Linked DNA regions of Homo sapiens: region 2 is linked to region 1. Evidence: promoter capture Hi-C in 16 types of primary human blood cells and fetal thymus (Javierre and others, 2016). All regions are on one chromosome and are shown on one strand. The core of a region is centred on a gene start or on the middle of the fragment in contact, and the rest is flanking DNA. Distances in the headings are between cores, read along the strand shown.

Evidence for each region. The method cuts DNA at HindIII sites, captures the fragments that hold promoters and counts their contacts. A CHiCAGO score of 5 or more calls a contact.
Region 2: a fragment that was not itself captured here is called in contact with the fragment with the promoter of BEST3 in region 1 in 2 of 17 cell types (M2 macrophages and total CD8 T cells); the score reaches 5.9 in M2 macrophages.

The regions. Positions count from the first base shown.
Region 1 is chr12:69,696,942-69,703,625 of GRCh38, reverse strand. It overlaps BEST3 (bestrophin 3), which reads left to right and starts at 4,323. Exons shown (of 10, transcript NM_032735.3): 1 at 4,323-4,421; 2 at 5,813-5,979. The coding sequence starts at 5,828. The HindIII fragment of the contact is 3,631 bases long and covers 1,354-4,984 here.
Region 2 is chr12:70,578,910-70,585,593 of GRCh38, reverse strand. PTPRB (protein tyrosine phosphatase receptor type B) reads left to right here. Exons shown (of 34, transcript NM_001109754.4): 10 at 4,292-4,558. Among named protein-coding and RNA genes, the nearest start is that of PTPRB, 55 kb to the left of the region's middle. The HindIII fragment of the contact is 2,903 bases long and covers 2,669-5,571 here.

The sequences.
Region 1 (6,684 bases), core at 3,074-5,573:
TACTTAATTCAGCAACTTTATTTTTTTATGGGCACATGGGCTCCCACTTGAAACTTGAGTTTGCATCCATTTTTGCTGGTAGAATGTTTTTATTTGCAGGATAAAATAAAACACATCAAAAGTTCATGGCATGTCATCAAGAACAGCATACCTGAACAAATTTGAGAATCATGTTCCATAATCTTTGTTCTTCATGAGCAAACAGACTCAAAGGACAAAGGAAGTGTCATATGATACTTCTCTTTCCTCCTCCTCCTCCTCTTGCCTCCTCCTTTTCCTCCTCCTCCTTCTCCTCCTCCTCTCGCCTACCCCTGCTCTTCTTCCCCTCCCTGCAGTGGTAGCTATCCCCTGGGCTCTCTCCCACCATCCTTCCTCTGCATTCCACCCACCCACCCACCCACCATCCCAGTTTATCCCAGAACAACCAAAATAACCTTCAAATTGATTCCCCTTCTATAGTCCCTACCCACTCCAATTCATCACACACTCTTCCCAGAGACTCACATTTCTGCAGCTCGGATTTTTTCGAACCCTTTCCCCATCAAAAACATTGATTGATTGCCCACTTAGTAATGTCCCAAAGTCTTAGGTTCAGAATCAAATCCTCCAAAATACAACGTCTGGTCTTTGGTTAATATTTGAATACATGTGTTATCTACACACAATTTATGTTCAACTAATCACTCAGAAGAAATTTGACAAGAGACTTCTCATGTCAGTGGAGACATGTCAAATCAGTTTAAAATGAATGTGGGGCTTTCTAAATAGCTGCTTCTCAAGTAGAAGGTGGTATTGGCTACGTAAACTTGTTGTTGTTACTATTTCCTGTTTCCTTAAGGAACAAAGAGATTTATTTTGACATCTATAGGTGAATATCAGGATTCCAAGTGGAAATGATTCCTTGTTCTTTTCTATGAATTGCCCTGTCATTGGAGGTTTACTGGAATCAAAGACAAATGTGCTACTCTGGACTGTTGAAAATCAGAGTGGTCAAAATCACATAACTTGATGTTTACTGTCAAGGGAAAATATGGCTGGTATAGTTATTTCATAGAGCCCTGAAATTGCCTAAGGGTCTATCATATCGTTTGCTATTAATTATAGGGTTAAAATATTTTCCACAAAAGTCTAGCAAGATTAACTTTATGCCAAATGATACCACCCCTCTAGTGTGGCAGGACAGAGTGCCACTGTCTTCTTTATATGTTGTTTTCCTTTTTATTTTTTAATAATCATATTTTACTTTTAGAATCTGGAAAAAAATTTCTAAAGAAACTTTAAAGTTCGATTTAAAAAGTGATATGAGCCTTCAACTTTGCAATCCGGTGTTTGTTGGATATTTTAAAATAAGCTTTAGTGGCTTGTCTCCTCTAAGCAGGGCTATTTCGACAAGGCCTCTTTCAGTACCTGTTAGAAATCACCACCAGATTCAGAGCTCAACAATGGGAGTTTGTTCATTCAATCTGATCATTATTGACTAATTTGCATTTAGAATGCTGTCTCCAACCATTAATTAGTCATTCCTCAAAACAACCCAATGGGAGAGAGGAACATAATTATCCCTGTTTAGAAATGAAACCAACCAACAGTGCGTTCAGTGCCCCACAGAGGCAGATCCCCTAGCTATGCAGTCATGGCTGCTGGGAATATGCCAGCTGTCAGGGCCACCACACAACCAATAGGAGATGCAAGAGTGAGAATTTTACAAAATACCTCCGATGTTCCTATTTCATAAGCATTTGGGTTTAGATTTGCTGAGATTCGTCTTGCAAACCTTTATAAACATAACATCAGATCTATCAGACCACTTTTCATGGCAACACAACATAAGATGTGCAACATTGTATATATGCTTTTTAAATGTTCACAAATTCCCTCAAATAACCAACAGAATTATAATAGTGAAGGTAAGGAATAATCAAACAGCAAATACATACTAAATATTCATTATTCACAGGGCTCCATACTGGAATTATGAACAGGGATGGGGGCAAGAAATTAAAAAGATACCTACAGCCCTGGCTTTGCTCTAATCTAAGGTACCTAGAATTTGATAAAGAATCCAGCGAAATGCATATAAAACTTACTGTTTTAGAAAAATTTAATTATATGTAATCTTAATTTTAGAATAAGCATTTTTTTCTATATCTTTCTCCACAAAAATACATTTTCTTTAAGTTAAGGTGCAAGGGTGCACAAGTTACTTTAGAAGGTTGGAAAAGTCCCAGGAATTGGCCCTGAAATTATTTATTTTATTACTTAAAGAACGCTGGTGAATTCTCTCTTTTAAGAAAGAAAATATGGGGCTGGGCGCGATGGCTCACGCCTATAATTCCAGCACTTTGGGAGGCTGAGGAGGGCGAATCACCAGGTCAGGAGTTCAAGACCAGCCTGACCAATATGGTGAAACTCCCTCTCTACCAAAAATACAAAAATTAGCCAGGTGTGGTGGGACACGCCTGTAGTCCCAGCTACTCGGGAGGCTAAGGCAGGAGAATTGCATGAACCCAGGAGGCAGAGGTTGCAGTGAGCCAAGATTGTGCCATTGCACTCCAGCCTAAGCGACAGAGTGAGACTGTGTCTCAAAAAAAGAAAGAAAGAAAGAAGAGAGAGAGAGAGAGGGAGGGAGGGAGGGAGGGAAGGAAGGAAGGAAGGAAGGAACGAAGGAAGGAACGAAGGAAGGAAGGAAGGAAGGAAGGAAGGAAGGAAGGAAGGAAGGAAGGAAGGAAGGAAGGAAAAGAAAAGAAAGAAACTATGCGCCGGGTGTGGTGGGCTCACACCTGTAATCCCAGCACTTTGAGAGGCCGAGGCAGGCATATCACCTGAGGTCGGGGGTTCAAGACCAGACTGACCAACATGGAGAAACCCTGTCTCTACTAAAAATACAAAATTAGCTGGGCATGGTGGCGCATGCCTGTAATCCCAGCTACTCAGGAGGCTGAGGCAGGAGAATCGCTTGAACCCGGGAGGCGGAGGTTGCAGTGCACCGTGATCGGCACCATTGCACTCCAGCCTGGGCAAGAAGAGCAAAGCTCCATCTCAAAAAAAAAAAGAAAAAATTTCCTAGCTGACCATGGAAGGATAACAAATGTGATGAATCTGGCCGGGTGCGTTGCCTCACGCCTGTAATCCCAGCATTTTGGAAGGCCGAGGCAGGCAGATCACTTGAGGTAAGGAGCTCGAGATCAGCCTGGCCAACATGGTGAAGCCTCATCTCTACCAAAAATATAAAAAATTAGCCGGTGTGATGGTGTGCACCTGTAATCCCAGCTACTTGGGAGGCTGAGGGAGGAAAATCGCTTGAACCCGGGAGGTGAGGTTGCAGTGAGCCAAGATCGTGCCACTGCACTCCAGCCTGGGCGACAGAGCGAGACTCCATCTTAAAAGAAAAAAAATGTGATGAATCCATGTGTTATTATTTCCCACTACACTAAGCCATCAATATATCATGATTCTCTATGTGTTCTTCTAACACACAAACACACACCACACACACACTAACACATAATCGTTGCTTTTAATTGAAGAACATTTTCAACACCTCTCAAGTGGCAAAAATCCTGTTTATATTCTTGTCTGCCCCAGTTTATGGCTTCATAAGAATTTTTTCATCTGTTTTTTGAGGCAGAGTCTCGCTCTGTCGCCCAGGCTGGAGTGCAGTGGTGTGATCTCAGCTCACTGCAACCTCCGCCTCCTGGGTTCCAGTGATTCTCCAGCCTTAACCTCCCAAGTAGGTGGGATTGCAGGAGCCCACCGCCAGACCCAGCTAATTTTTGTATTTTTAGTAGAGACAGCGTTTCACCATGTTGGCCAGGCTGGTCTCGAACTCCTGACCTCAGGTGATCTGCCTGCCTCAGCCTCCCAAAGTGCTAGGATTACAGGTGTGGGCCACCGCGTTCCAGCCCAGTTTTAAGAATTTAATCTTCATTTCAAGCACAAAAAGACTTTTTTTTTTTTTTTTTGGCTGGTGGGGCCTCTTTTTTGAACTCTTTAGGGCCAAATCAACCTTTCTTCCTTGATCCCAGGGTGGAGTCAAATGAATCTAACAGACAAACGGCCCAACATCCTTCATGTCACTGCCAACTTCTCATTCAAAGGGGTACTTGGGGTGGCAGGTGGAGTTATAATTATAGCTTAGAAAAAAGCAGCATCAGCAGCTGTTGCTTCTGTTTGTTCCCAGCTATAACTGTCATCAGTGGCTAAACTGGCATAAACAGGCCTCTACAAGTGGAAAAACATTTAACCCCTGTTCTTGTCACACTCTGGGTCCTCTCAGTGGCCAGAGAACAGAAAGAAAATCTGACTGTGCACGAGCGAAGGGTGACACCGGGCGTGCAGCACCGACCTGAAGGCACCTCTTCGGGGGAGCCCGAAATTTGAAGATTCTCTTTCCTGTCGGAGACTACAAACCAAATAAATAGGTTAGTGCCCAGAGTAAACCTATGCATTTTAATTCTGACCTCTACTTGCTGTGATTTTCATTTTCCTGGCAGAGCTTGAAAAGAAGAGTGAACTACTAAATGAAAGAAAGGAAAGTTAATTAAGGACTGTTATTTAAAACTACCGGGAGTCCATGAGAACAAATTATGAAATGGGTTTAATTTATTATGCTCCTCTCCCAATTTTGGCTGTATTCGCACTAGGCAAATAGACAAGGTAAAGATGGAAAAATAAAACCGGTTTTGTGGCATGAGTCCCATCCTTTTGTAATGCCACTTACTTGTGCCAAAAGGCCCTACCTTCTTTATTAAAATCAGTAATGTTGAAAGCTAAGTTTGTGATTTTAGAAAATGCTGTAAACGTAGCTCCAGAGTTTCATTTCCTTAGGGAAAATAGGCAAATCAGAGTTGAATTGTTTTTCCAGCAATGAGTAAAGATAGAAAATTTTCTTGTTTATGATAAAATGTGTGGTGTAGGCTACTTTACAAAAGAAATCTGCTACAGAATTTATTTTTTGTGTCTAGTACAATTCTATCTAAAAGCTTCATGATTTCAGTCTAAGTAGCTCTATAAGACTCTCCTCATAGATCCTTTTGAGAAAAGTAAGATTTTAAATAAATCTCATTTTATTTGCATATGTTCTATCTTAGCCAGAAATTGAGCAAGATTTTCAAAGATTAGCTTTGCGCTGTCTGTTTCAAAACCTGAATATTTAATGTCTTGGTGAAAAGTGGTGGAATTCCAAAGAACTCACCAAAAACAAGGCTTTTGGGCCCAGTGCTCATCCTAACCACATTCATGAAATGGACTCAAGTAGAAAGAGTTGTAAATAATGACCTCATTTTGTTCAACTCCAAAGAGAATGTGAACCATCCCTAAGCATTTATGTACAACTTGTCATGGGGAAACTGCACCATTCTTATTTATCACTATGACCCAACTTTTTGGCTGACTTTTGAAATGCAATGAGTGCTAACGATGCATTTGGACCTCCACTAGAGAGACATCTACATGCAATCAAACCCACCAAAAGTGCCCCATCAATTAAATTCTCACGAGGGCCTTGTTTGTCTCATTTGTTCATTCAAATATATATTGGCCAATGGCTATATAATCTAAAAATAATATTTAACAGTTAAGGCAAGTTTAAGATGTCTAATATTACTCTTCCCAGAGACTGCTTTCCTCCTGCTTTCTGCTAAACTGAGATAATGGTTATCTGAAAGTTCCGAATTATAGAAACTAAGAAAGACAAAACAGAGATATGGCTGACTAGTTGCTGGCTTGAATTTCCTTGATATACAGACATACAGATTTATGCCCTATTTTAAACATTGCTTTTTACTTGTGTTTTGTCTTCTTGCTCTTCTAGAAAAAACTATCCAAGATGACTGTCACTTACTCCAGTAAAGTAGCAAATGCAACTTTTTTTGGATTTCATAGGTTACTCCTCAAGTGGAGAGGCAGCATCTACAAACTACTGTACAGGGAATTTATTGTTTTTGCTGTTCTTTATACAGCAATAAGTTTGGTATACAGGTACTTTTCTTTACATGTCTCCTTAAATGGCCATCAGATATTGTGTAAGATACAGTCTCAAAAATCTGAACCTTTTGATTGCCACTGACTTCGCATTATGGAACTCCTTTTTTGCGTGAGCCTCTCATTTGTCTTCTTCCCCTCAGGACAGATTTTAATCCACCACTAACCATTGTTAGGTTGTAAAATAGACCCTCACTGTTAAGATTCAGGTGGCCTTCATTCCAGCCCCAGTTGTGCCTCGAGACTGTTGCAATAGGCACAAAATGGAAGGATTATCCTTAGATCTTTACTGTGTAAAGACTTTTGAATGGGCAAAGTCCACAGACAATAATTATTTGTGCTTCTGTCAACTTGTCATTCATAGTTGATGATTTGACAGCTTGTAGCAACTACCTATATAATCAACATGTTCATGATTGGTGTATGTCAGGGAAAAGCTTTCCTTCTTTTGGCCTGGAATGAAAATATCTTATCCAGGATGATGCCTGCCACACTTAACAGTACCTCAACTAAAGCAAAGGCCTGTAGAATAATTTATTTTCTTTCCGTTTTCTGAGTTGAGGGTATATTATGTTCACAAAAGGAGGTGCTTATTCTTTATAACATTACAACATATGCCTGTCAGATTGACAGGAAATTTGAGCAATATCAAGTCCAAGAAATATTTTTATGATGAAAAGTTATAGTCTTAATAAAATTTCA
Region 2 (6,684 bases), core at 2,871-5,370, 880 kb before region 1:
TCACAAGGTGGCAGGAGGGGAAGTGATGGAGATGAAAGGGGAAAGAGCCCCTTATAAAACCATCAGATCTTGTGAGAAATCACTCACTAACACAAGAACAGCATGGGGGAAACCACTCCCATGATCCAGTCACCTCCCTCCTTGGACACATGGGGATTACAATTCAAGATGAGATTTGGGTGGGGACACAGAGCCAAACCGTATCAGCTAGGAAAGAGAGAATATGTGGGTGCAGATGCCAATAGGTGGATCGTTGTAGGGTGAGCAGTTATCTTCTAATTGCTTTCATTTTTTTCAGTGTAATTGGAAGCAAAGTCATCAAGATTTCCCTTTTTAGTTGGACGCCGTGGCTCACATCTGTAATCCCAGCACTTTGGGAGGCCGAGATGGGTGGATCTTGAGGCCAGGAATTCAAGACCAGCCTGGCCAACATGGCAAGACACTGTCTCTACTAAAAACACAAAAATTAGCTGGGAGTGGTGGCACATACCTGTAATCCCAGATACTCGGGAGGCTGAGGCATAAGAATCACTTAAACCCAGGAGGTGGAGGTTGCATGAGTCGAGATCCTGCCACTGCACACTAGCCTGGGTGATAGAGCGAGAACCTGCCTCAAAAAAAAAAAAAAAAAGAAATTTCTTTTTTCAATGTATATACTATTGTCCTGTATCTTATTTTTCTCTCCTCTTTTGATCCCACAAAAATATAATTATTGCTTTATATAGTCAACATCTGTTTAGATTTACCTACCAATTTACTACCTTTTTTCTCATTTTTTCCCCCTGCATCTGAGATGTTTTATCTGGGATTATTTTCCTTTATCCTGGAGAACGTTATTCAAATTTCTTCATTGAGAGTTTCTAGGGACAAACTCTCTCAAATTTTGTTTTTGCTGGGCATATTTTTATATAGCTCTCATTTTTATATAGCTCTCGGTCTTGAAAGATATTTTCCTTAAGTTCCAACTCTGTGTTTAAAGTTACTTTCTCTCAGCACATAAAAGATATTATTCTAGTCTTTCTGGGATTTATTGTTGCGCTGAGTCAGCTGTCAGTCTGATTTTTATTTCTCTATGAGTCTGTTTGCTATGACTGCTTTTTTGCCTTTGGGGTTCAGTTGTTTCACAATAATGATCAAGGTGTAGATATATTTCTTTTTGTTTCTCTTGCTCAAGATTGATTGGCATTTCTGTACTTTCCAACTAGTGTCTTTCTACAATCCTGGAAATTCTCAGCTATTAACTCTCTAATATTGCCTCTTGCCCCTTCTCCATTCCCCACTCTGTCATCTTCTGGTATTCTAGAACACACATATATGAACACATCAATATATTTCATATTTTCCATGTGTTTTCTCTCTGAACTACAGTATAGGTAACTTTCTCATATCTTTGATTCATTTCATTAATTCTTTCTTCAGCTTTGTCTAATCTATTTTAAAATCTACCCACTGTTTTAAATTTTAATTGTTATGTTCACTTTTAAGCATTCTCTTTGGCTCTCTTTCAAATTTATGTTGTGCTCTGTTGCTCTTTAGTTATATTTTCATTCCCCTCCTGTATTGTTATATGCAAATTAACAATGTTTATTTTCCATCCTATGTCTGATAATTATAATAGCTGAAATCTTCAGGAGTTAAGTTCTGTTGTCTTTTGATTTTCCTGCCTTTTGTTTATGTTGCTTTATTTCTTTAAATGTATGTGATTTCTTTTTACTGTAAGCCTGTTTTCCCTAGAATTTTATTCTGTGGAAATTATTTAAGGCCATGTTTGAAGGTGAGTTTCAGAAAGAATTTTCATTTGATTCTTTCAGGTGCACAAGACTGCTATCAAACCAGACCTACTTTAATCTAAATTGTCAACTTTAGGTTCTTTGATCACCTGGGTTTTATAAATTCAGGTTGCAAACACATTGAAACTATCTTAAGGTTATGAGTTCTCAGAGGAAATCGTTTTCTCCATCCAGTATTAAGAAGGCTGAAGTTGTATGGGGAGTAAAGAGAGACTATTTATTTCACTTATACTTAGAATGTAGCCTTTCCAATGTTATGCAAGGTCAGCTATGAGTTTCTTCAGCCTGGAAAAATCTACACTTTACCTCCTTTCTCCAATATCCTGCAGTGCTATAAAATCAAAGCTTACATTTGCATTTGAAAGGTGCTCTCAACACAACAGTTCGCTTTATGATCCAATTACCTCTCTATCCTTTACTTTTTGGCCTTTGAGAATCTCTTACATTCCTGACAAGTCATTCATTTACATTTTCACATTTTATCCAATATGTATAGTTGTGTTTATTAGAAGGATTTTCATGGTATCTAGCCTATCATACTGCCAGAAAGGGAAGTCCAAGACATTGTTTTAGACCTAAGGTCATTTTTATCATCCCCACCACCCATATTGCTGGGTCATATGGTAAATGCATGTTTAACTTTGTAGAAAACTGCCAAACTGCTTTCCAAAGTATTGTAAAATTTTACATTCCCACCAGCAATGTATGAAATTTCCACTTCCTCCGTGTTCTCAGCATGTAGTACATGGTATTAGCAGTTTGTTTTAAAATTTAGCCATTCTAATGGAATAGCCATTATAATAAGATAATGATAGCTCATGTGGTTTTAATTTGCCTTTTTCTAATGTCTAATGGGTTTGAGAATCCTTTCACAAGCTTATTTGTCACCCATTTATCTTTTCTGGGGAAGTTTTTGTTCAAATATTTTGCTGGATTTTAAAATAGGATTGTTTGTTTGTCCTTGGTCAAAATGTTTTCTGTCGGTTTTTCATTTTGATGTCCAATTTATCAGTTTTTTTCTTTCATAAATCATGCTGTGGTGTCATATCTAAAAATATTTGCCTAAATCAAGGTCACAAAGGTTTTCTCCTAGAAGGTTATAGTTTTAGGTTTTAAATGTAGGTCTGCGACCCATTTTGAGTTAATTTTTATATATGATGTGAGATATAGGTGAAGGTTTTTTTCTTTGCATATAGACATCTGATAATTCTACCTCTATGTATTGAAAAGACTATCTTTTCTCCATGAAATTGCCTTTGAATCTCTAAAAAATCCATTGATAGCATATTCTTCTATCTCTGGGCTCTCAATTCTGTTCTATCAATCTATGTTTCTGTCTGCCCTTTGCCAGTATTATCCTGTCTTGATTACAAGATTTTTAGTGAAATCAGGTGGTGTTAGTCCTCTAACTTTATTCATCTTTTTCAAAATTGCTTTGGCCACTGTAGCTGTTTGCCTTTCATATAAAATTTAGAATTATAATTGAATCTTTAGAATTGAATCTGATCCATATACAGTAGGATTTTTTTAATGAACGCTTTTGTATCTTAATCCAGAAGTCAATGAACTTTGAGAAAGAGGGGTGCCAAGGTTCCAGTCCCTTTGATTATTGTAATTCAGGAAAGAGGCACAAAGAAGAATGTATGTTGACCAAGTGCCAACTTCAAGATCTGTGTATAAGATTTGTTAAATGATAAGTTGGAAGAAATAAATGTTGTTAATTAGGAAAAGGACACAGGCTTAGGGGTTAGATAAATCTAGCTTTCAGTTCCAGGTTGGCTATTTGTTAGCACTGTGATATAGGCTAAATTACTTACATTTTATGATCCTTGGTTTCCTTGTTAATAAATGGAATAATAAAGTCAACTTTATAGAGTTCTGAATGGGTGTCAAATAATGTAACCTTTATGAGACATATAGCTCATAACTGGCACATAGTAGGCCTTCAGTAGTTGTTGTTATTATCATTATTTTTTAATATATATATTATAATTTATATTATTATCACATGTTCATGTATAATAACAGCCCCTTTAAGAATGTGCCAGTATAGAACTAATCAGTTTGCTAGACCATAATCAACAGACTGAAGGGAATTCCCAATACCACCCCATAACAATCATTGGCTCAGGTAGATTAGATAGCTTTGAATTCTCATGGGGTAAGGACAGATAAAATCACATTAACTAAGCAGTTTTCAAAAATAGCAGCCTTCATTATCTAAAATTTAAAATCAAAACCACTTAATAAGCATGCATCATCTCATCTTTGGATCTTAAATAATTTTGATTCCCTATATAAGCAGCTTTTTCAAAGTACTAGAGCCTCTCTAGAGGAGTAGTTCTCCATATGCCACAGGAAATAGAACTGAGAGTCTATAGCAACAACACAAAAATTATTTTTAGTACTTTCAAGTCTGTCTCCATTTTTTGACTCATTTTTCTTACACTTTCTTAAGGTGACTAAGTGTCATTTGTTTTTTCTTCTGTCTACTGTTTTAGTGCCTGCCCAAGTGACTGACTTGCATGTGGCCAACCAAGGAATGACCAGTAGTCTGTTTACTAACTGGACCCAGGCACAAGGAGACGTAGAATTTTACCAAGTCTTACTGATCCATGAAAATGTGGTCATTAAAAATGAAAGCATCTCCAGTGAGACCAGCAGATACAGCTTCCACTCTCTCAAGTCCGGCAGCCTGTACTCCGTGGTGGTAACAACAGTGAGTGGAGGGATCTCTTCCCGACAAGTGGTTGTGGAGGGAAGAACAGGTAAGAAGTAGAGATATGTGTCTGTGACTTAACTAAGATCTGAGTACATGAGACCCCTAATCAGAATATTATAGAAATATCCTAAAATCAGACTCATCCCTGGCCTTTACAAAAGCTAAGTTTCACAAAAGCTAGCCATCCAGAAGGTATATGGAATGGAAATTGGGCGATGGGTGATGGCAAGAGAGAATAAATTCTGATTTTTTTTTTTTTTTTTGAGACGGAATTTCGCTCTGGTTGCTCAGGCTGGAGTGCGATGGCGTGATCTCGGCTCACCGCAACCTCCGCCTCCTGGGTTCAGCAATTCTCCTGCCTCAGTCTCCCGAGTAGCTGGGATTACAGGCGTGTGCCACCACGCCCTGCTAACTTTGTATTTTTAGTAGAGACAGGGTTTCTCCACGTTGGTCAGGCTGCTCTCGAACTCCTGACCTCAGGTGATCCACCCGCCTCGGCCTCCCAAAGTTCTGGGATTACAGGCGTGAGCCACCACTCCTGGCTGAATATTTTAACATCTCCAATGAACATGTAAGAACTCCTCACTCGATGTCTAGACTTATCCCCCTATTCAGTTGATTTCCTTTGAAATGTTTATGTTCCAGTTAAGGTAAACAATAATGGATAAAAAACAAAACAAACCTCCCAAAGAAAGCATCTTTCACTCTTATATATTCTTGGTTTGCAAGACATAAAAAGAAAATGATCTCCAATTAATATGGTTAGAGGTGGAGTTGATCTAATTTTCAGGTCTCATATATTTTCATAAGCAACGTTAAACAAGTGCTTAATATGCTATCTAAACAATTTTTCTTGACCTTAATAGCTCCCTGTTAGAAAGCTAAGTAAACAAATAAGTGTCATTATGGTCATGTATGTCAGGGAGCCATGGCACCGAGGAAGAAATTACATAGAATTTTCTATGTAATACAATGAAAGAACATAAAAAATTAATATATATGATATATAAAATGTATGTTCATTTCTTAGAAAAAAATTACATAAACCCAATAGAAGCTTTGATAATTATTAGTGGGACCTTGTCTACTTAATTTTATATAATTATTTTAAGTTGGATTTCAGGCTTCTCCTTCTGCATCCTCAACACTCAAATTCTGTTTATCAGCTGCAGGCATCATAGATGCATCTCTTTCCAAAATCATGAATCTCATCTACTTAATGAACCCAGAGGACATTAACTTCATTAACTCTCCCAGAAGAACAATGAAGTCACTGAGAAGATGTTTCATAGTCTTGGTAGAAATTCACTGGTGTATGCCCATTTCCCTCATTCTATGACAGCTGACATTGTCACTTGCATGTTTCTTTTTTTTTTTTTTTTTTTTGAGATGGAGTCTCATTTTGTCGCCAGGCTGGAGTGCAGTGGCACGATCTTGGCTCACTGCAACCTCCGACTCCCTGGTTCAAGCGATTCTCCTGTCTCAGTCTCCCGAGTAGCTGGGATTACAGGCACGCACCACCACGCCCAGCTAATTTTTGTACTTTTAGTAGAAACAGGGTTTCAGCTTGTTGGCCAGGATGGTCTCGATCTCCTGACCTCGTGATCTGCCTGCCTCGGCCTCCCAAAGGGCTGGGATCACAGGTGTGAGCCACTGCGCCCGGCCTGTCACCTGCATCTTTCTCCCTGATATTTTCTTTCCTTTCTTTTAATGGTTCTTGGCACCATCCATTGGTGTAGCATACTTGGGGGTAGGTAGCTGAAAAGCTTAGCATGGAAATCAGGAGGCCTAGGTTTTGGTCCTAGCTCTGCCATTAACTTATTTCCCTAAGCTTCTGTGTTTTAATCCACACACAATAATTCACTCCTACCCTGGGTGTCAGAATAGGGAAGGAGAAATAATAAAGCTGAGGAGAGGAGTGGAGGACGACCTTGCATTCATTTCCCAGTGATTTGCAGTTGTATCAGTCACATTAGACTGATTTAATTCATGCTTAGACACTGTATAATGTGGGTGTTCATGATTGGATGCCTCTATTGGTTGGGATACAGTCTCCTACTATCAGTGGCTCTTCTTTGCTGTAGGTCCTCAGAGCTCTCCCCATTTCTCCAGAGAATGGAGGTTGGGGAGGGGTACAACTCATCAGACTTGGGAGTAGGCATTTCACTTCCA